Regions from separate parts of the Homo sapiens genome. Here region 2 is linked to region 1. The links are contacts of gene promoters, found by promoter capture Hi-C in blood cells and fetal thymus (Javierre and others, 2016). All regions are on one chromosome and are shown on one strand. The core of a region is centred on a gene start or on the middle of the fragment in contact, and the rest is flanking DNA. Distances in the headings are between cores, read along the strand shown. Region 1 holds the start of A2ML1 (alpha-2-macroglobulin like 1). Region 2 overlaps RIMKLB (ribosomal modification protein rimK like family member B).

Region 1 (2,968 bases), core at 259-2,758:
TCTATTCCAGAAGAAATGTGTACTTTTGTTTTAGATACACAAACTCAGTAGCAACCCCCACCTACTTCTCTTGCTTGTGTAGCGCAGCATGTATTCAACACTTGCACTACTTAATCCCCCCAGATTTTCCTCTCCTCTGCACTCCTTTTTTTCCAAAGCCTACTGTCAAACCACAAATCCCCTCTTTACCCCTGTGCACAGCGGTTTCCCCAGGTTTTAGTCGAACCCCAAATATGTGACTCTTACCTTGCTGCCCTGGGGTGTAGAGAGGTTTGTCAGTCTGTACAAAGGTGCCGTTCCCCTGCCTCTGAATTAGAACCTTTTTCTTCTCCTCAAAGCTGATGTTATTTCCAACTCCCGACACCCGGATTGTGGCCACTTCTTCTGTGCCACCAGCAGGAGGTGGTACCTGACCAAGAAAGGGGACTTCTGGGGAGGGGTAAGGGATTGGGGGAACAGAATCAACTGGTCTCAACCCAACAGTGAGTTAAAGGAAAGAGCTGAGTTAGATGGGGGTAGCAAGGATAGAGACATAAAACAAATTACCACGAGGAAGAATTAAGGTCAGGAACTAAAGGGAGAAATCCTAGGTCGAGGAAACCGTGGGTGAGTTATAGCCGGGGATTGAGGTTAAGTTGAGAAAAAATAGGTTTAGAGGCCGTGGCAAAAGATAACAGAAATTATACTTAAAGTAGATTATAGTGAGCCTAGGGAGGAGAATAGGCAAGTAAGGGATTCGAGTGAGGGCTGAGTCTGTGCTTACAAGAAAGGAGATACAATGTAAGTGCCTCTTCTTCAGTCCAGAGTATTCTAGCAACTTCTGGGTCTTGTCCTTGGTCTCCAGAGTAACCGTGAATTTAACATCACTGTACCCAGGGCTCAGGTCCAAACAAACCTTCTGAACGGAGGGGAAATTTAGCCGGGCTGGTAATGTCACCAGGTAGTTTCTATTAAAGGAGCAGAAGGATTTCAGGGCAATAATGATTCATTCACTCGAAAAATCCAGCACTCTCCTAAGCGCTCAGCAAGTAGCAGTGAATTAGACAGACCAAGCCCCTGCCTTCCTTATGCACCTCATTTTCTACAAGAAGCAGAGGGGCAACGACTCAGTGCACAGTCTTCAACTTCCGCCATCAGGAGGCCCTCACCGAGCACACATGCCTAGAGCACCAAGGAGGAAATTAGGCCTATTTCAGAAAACAGGGCACATTTTAATATTTATCTTTTTTAAAGCTTCCTCTTCATGCGTCAGCCTCCCTCTCTGGGTAAAGGATCAGTGGAACCAAAGAAGAGAAAAAAGGAGGAGGAAATTAAGATAAACCAAAGTTGATCTCCCCATCTCCATATAAATGTTTGAGAAAGTTAGGCGAAGAAGCCGCTGCCCTAATAAACCAATTCTGACACCAAGCACTCACGGAAGTTCTTCTGCAATGGCTGGTGATAGGGCCAACATTCCTAGAAGGAGCTGAGCCCACATCTTTGTGGGTGAGACAGATTTTTCCAGGGTCAGGGGCAGAGATCGCTCCGCGTAGCTTTATATACTAATTCCAGGTAGGGTGTGCAGTGATGACTGATGCTATAGTCAGTCACCTCCTGGCACCTGGAACACAGGAGGACTGTGTTCCTCCTTCTGTAACCACCAGGTTAGGTGGTGGACCAGGGTAGGGCCACTATTCACTTCTTTAAAGTTGTTTCTGCCTGGAACATCCATACTGGTTCAGCCAGTTTTGGGGGAAAACCAGAGCTGAGTATTCATAATGGTAAAGCTCTCAGAACATATTTTGAACTCCTCCCTTTTTTTCTGGTCTCATTCCAATTCCTGTTCTCATTTAATGTCCTTATTTTCTTTTATTATTCAATTAAGGTGTAGTTGGGAACACGGGTATGAGAACAGTTTCAATAGAAAAGCAGTAAACTTGGCCGGTCACAGTGGCTCACGCCTGTAATCCCAGCACTTTGGGGGGTTGAGGTGGGCAGATCACCAGGTCAGGAGTTCAAGACCAGCCTGGCCAACATAGTGAAACCCTGTCTCTACTAAAAATACAAAGAAAAAAAAATCAGCTGGGCATAGTGGTGGGTGCCTATAGTCCCAGCTACTTGGGAGGCTGAGGCAGGAGAATCGCTTGAACCCGGGAGGTGGAGGTTGCAGTGAGCCGAGATCATGCCACTTTACTCCAGCGTGGGTGACACAACGAGACTCTGTCTCAAAAAAAAAAAAAATTAATACTACTCAGTATTGTTGTGACTGTATGGAAATAGGGACACACACAGTCCTAGAGAAAATAGAATGTGGATAACTTTCTCATGGCAATTTTGTAATACACACCAAAGCCTTTGAGATTTGCATATTCTTTCACTCAGCAACTCCTACTCTGGAAATGTTTCTTAATGAGGAAAAAAAGGACAGCATGCATGTATGCACAAGTGTAACACTGAGTTTTTTCACACTGTTCTTTCTTTTTTTTCTTTTCTTTATTTTTTATTTTTTTGAAGTAGAGTCTCACTTTATCACCCAGGCTGGAGTGCAGTGGCACAATCTCAGCCCACTGCAGCTTTGACCTCCTGGGCTCAAGCGATCCTCCCACCTCCACCTCCTGAGTAGCTGGGACCACAGGTAGGCACCAACACTCCTGGCTAATTGTTTTGTATTTTTAATAGAGACAGGGTTTCACCATGTTGCCCAGGCTAGTCTCGAACTCCTGAGCTCCAGGGACCACCTCAGCCTCCCAAAGTGCTGGGATTACAGGTATGAGCCACCGTGCCCAGCCCACAGTGTTCTTTATGATGGTAATACTTAGAAGTCACCTAAAATATAAATTAGTCTAAGTGCAGTGGCTCATGCCTATAATCCCAGCTTTTGGGAGTCAGAAGCTGGAGGATTGCTTGAGCCCAAGAGTTTGAGACCAGCCTGGGCAACATAGTGAGACCCCGTTTTGTAACCACCCAATGGATTCACCTTGCTTGCTGC
Region 2 (2,968 bases), core at 340-2,839, 110 kb after region 1:
AGTTCTGAATATTTAATAACTTTTTATTTTTATTTATTTATTTATTTTGAGATAGAGTTTCACTCTTGTCACCCAGGCTGGAGGGCAATGGTGTGATCTAGGCTTGCTGGAACCTCCGCTTCCCGGGTTCAAGTGATTATCCTGCCTCAGCCTCCCAAGTAGCATGTGCCACCATACCTAGCTAATTTCTTCCAGAAGGCGGAAAGGTTGCAGTGAGCCGAGATCACGCTATTGCACTCCAGCCTGGGCAACAAGAGAGAAATTCCGTCTCACGCGCACAAAAAAGAAGATAAGGACCAGGCTCATTAAAATGAAAAATATATAAACACTATGGCTTCCCTACAGCAGGATATTCCATGCATATTACAGGCAGTAAACCTTATCCTCCCTCCTCCTTAAACAGAGTGTTTCTGATAAACTTTTTCTCCTATGAAACTTTTCTTGAAAAGAGATTTCCATTTTAACCACAGTATGGGAAAGGTACAGTGCAAACCTGCACTGTCAATTCAACCTGATGGAACGACTTTTTTTATGGGTTGCATTTCGGTCTCTTCCCTGCGGACAATCATAGGGAAGGCCACAGTGTGTCCCTGACCAGACGCTGTACCCAAAGACATACTATGCTCATTAGAAAAAAGTTATAGCCACACAGTGCCTTCCAGGCCACTTGGGAAGGTCTCAGAAAGCAAAGCTCCACAAAAGAAAAAGTCACGCCAGAATACCTGACGTAGAATATCCCCAGCTCCCCTTGATGAAGGAATTGTAAAAATGCCCTTAAAATGTTTGGGGGAGGGGGGAGGGATAGCATTGGGAGATATACCTAATGCTAGATGATGAGTTAGTGGGTGCAGCGCACCAGCATGTCACATGTATACATATGTAACTAACCTGCACATTGTGCACATGTACCCTAAAACTTATAATAATAAAAAAAAAAAGTTTGTAATCAGTAGTGATTAAAAGACTCTGTCACTGACTTCCAACACTCTGAAGCTATGTCCGTGCCTTGGCCTGACACTCGGCTCTTGAAACTCATCCGTTTGCAGATGATTTTTTTTTTCTTTCTGAGACATGGTTTCAGTCACCCAGGCTGGAGTGCAGTGGTGCAATCATAGCCCATTGCAGCCTCAAACTCCTCGGCCTAAGTGATCCACCTGTCTCCTCTGCCTCCCAAGTAGCTGAGATGACAGGAGCAAATCACATCAGGCTAATTTTTTTTTTTTCCTTGAGATGGAGTCTTGCTCTGCCACCCAGGCTGGAGTGCAGTGGCGCAACCTTGGCTCACTGCAACTTCTGTCTCCTGGGTTCAAGCAATTCTCCTGCCTCAGCCTCCTGAGTAGCTGGGATTACAGATGCCCACCACCATGCCCAGCTAATTTTCGTACTTTTCTCTTTTTAGTAGATATGGGGTTTTGCCATGTTGCCCAAAATGATGGAATTATAGGCGTGAGCCAACAGGCCCGGTCTCTAATTTTTTTTTTTTTTTTTTTTTTTTGGTAAAGATGTGGTCTCACTACGTTGCCCAGACTGATCTCAAACTCCTGGCCTCAACCAATCCTCCCACTTTGGCCTCCCAAAGTGCTGGGGTTATGGCTGTGAGCCACCATGCCTTGCCAATCAATGATTAATTTCATTGCACAGTGGGTCTTCACCTGAGTGTGGCAGTTGCTGCCCCAATAGCAGTCAGGATGGAATGTTATAGTCACTAGCAATTGGGAAGCAGAAATGTTCCGCTGCTGATACATCAGTAGTCAGAAATTACATGGGCTACAACAGTGTTCCCGATGATTCTGAAATCAGAAAATAATATTCCCCTCTGAAGAGCCACAAAGCCTTCAGTCAACATGTTTTTCTAGGCCAGGCATGATGGCTCCTGCCTGTAATCCCAGAACTTTGGAAGGCCAAGGTGGGCGGATCACTTGGTCAGGAGTTTGAGACCAGCCTGGCCAATATGGCAAAACCCTGTCTTTACTAAAAATACAAAAATGAGCCAGGTGTGGCAGTACATGCCTGTAATCCCAGCTACTCGGGAGGCTGAGGCAGGATAATCGCTTGAACCCAGGAGGCGGAGGTTGTAGTGAGTGGAGATCGTGCCACTGCTCTCCAGCCTGGGTGACAGAGCGAAACTCCATCAAAAAAAAAAAAAAAAAAAAGAAGGAAACAAACAAACAAACAAACAAAACTGGCGGGGAGCGGTAGTTCATTTTGGGAGGCTGAGGTGGGCAGATCACTTGAGGTCAGGAGTTCAAGACCAGCCTGGCTGACATGATTAAGACTCCATCTCTACTAAAAATACAAAAAAAAAAAATAGCCGGGTGTGTTGGTGCATGCTTGTAAACCCAGCTACTCAGGTGGCGGAGGCAGGAGAATCACTTGAATCTGGGAAGTCGAAACTGCAGTGACCCCAGATGATGCCACTGGACTCCAGCCTGGAAAACAGCAAGACTCCATCTCAAAACAAAACAAAACAAAAACCACATTTTTCTACATTAAATCTCTGATTACCAGGTACAGTAGTCCCTCCATATCCACAAGGGATAATTCCAAGACCCCCAGTGGATGCCTGAAACTGCAGATAGTACATATACTATGTTTTTTCCTAAACATACATATCTATGATAATTTGCATATTAGGCACAGTAAGATGTTAGCAATAAAATAGAACAATTATAACAATATACTATGATAAAAGTTATATGAATGCGGTGTCTCTCCCACTCTCAAAATATCCTGTTGTACTGTGTCAGGGCGTAACTGAAACCACAGAAAGTGAAACCAGGGAAAGTGAAACCTGTCCAGTGGTACACTGCCATTCCCACAGGAGGACATGCGGCTAGCCTTCCTCGGTGCCCAAGCGATGGGGCCTCCCCAAGGGCTGCTGCAGCAACAGCTGCTTGCCTTCTTAGGGGTGCTCCAACTGGATTCACATCTGAGATGCCAGAAGTGTTGGGTGAAGACTTCAATCCCA

Evidence for each region. The method cuts DNA at HindIII sites, captures the fragments that hold promoters and counts their contacts. A CHiCAGO score of 5 or more calls a contact.
Region 2: a contact is called between a fragment that was not itself captured here and the fragment with the promoter of A2ML1 in region 1, in 3 of 17 cell types (erythroblasts, M2 macrophages and naive B cells). The highest score is 7.6, in erythroblasts.

What each region holds. Positions count from the first base shown.
Region 1 is chr12:8,821,161-8,824,128 of GRCh38, reverse strand. A2ML1 (alpha-2-macroglobulin like 1) reads right to left here and starts at 1,508. Exons shown (of 36, transcript NM_144670.6): 1 at 1,416-1,508; 2 at 764-947; 3 at 247-409. The coding sequence starts at 1,477. The region is part of intron 1 of A2ML1-AS1 (A2ML1 antisense RNA 1); the gene reads left to right. The HindIII fragment of the contact is 3,171 bases long and covers 1,236-2,968 here.
Region 2 is chr12:8,709,493-8,712,460 of GRCh38, reverse strand. The region is part of intron 1 of RIMKLB (ribosomal modification protein rimK like family member B); the gene reads right to left. Among named protein-coding and RNA genes, the nearest start is that of RIMKLB, 13 kb to the right of the region's middle. The HindIII fragment of the contact is 4,798 bases long and covers 1-2,968 here.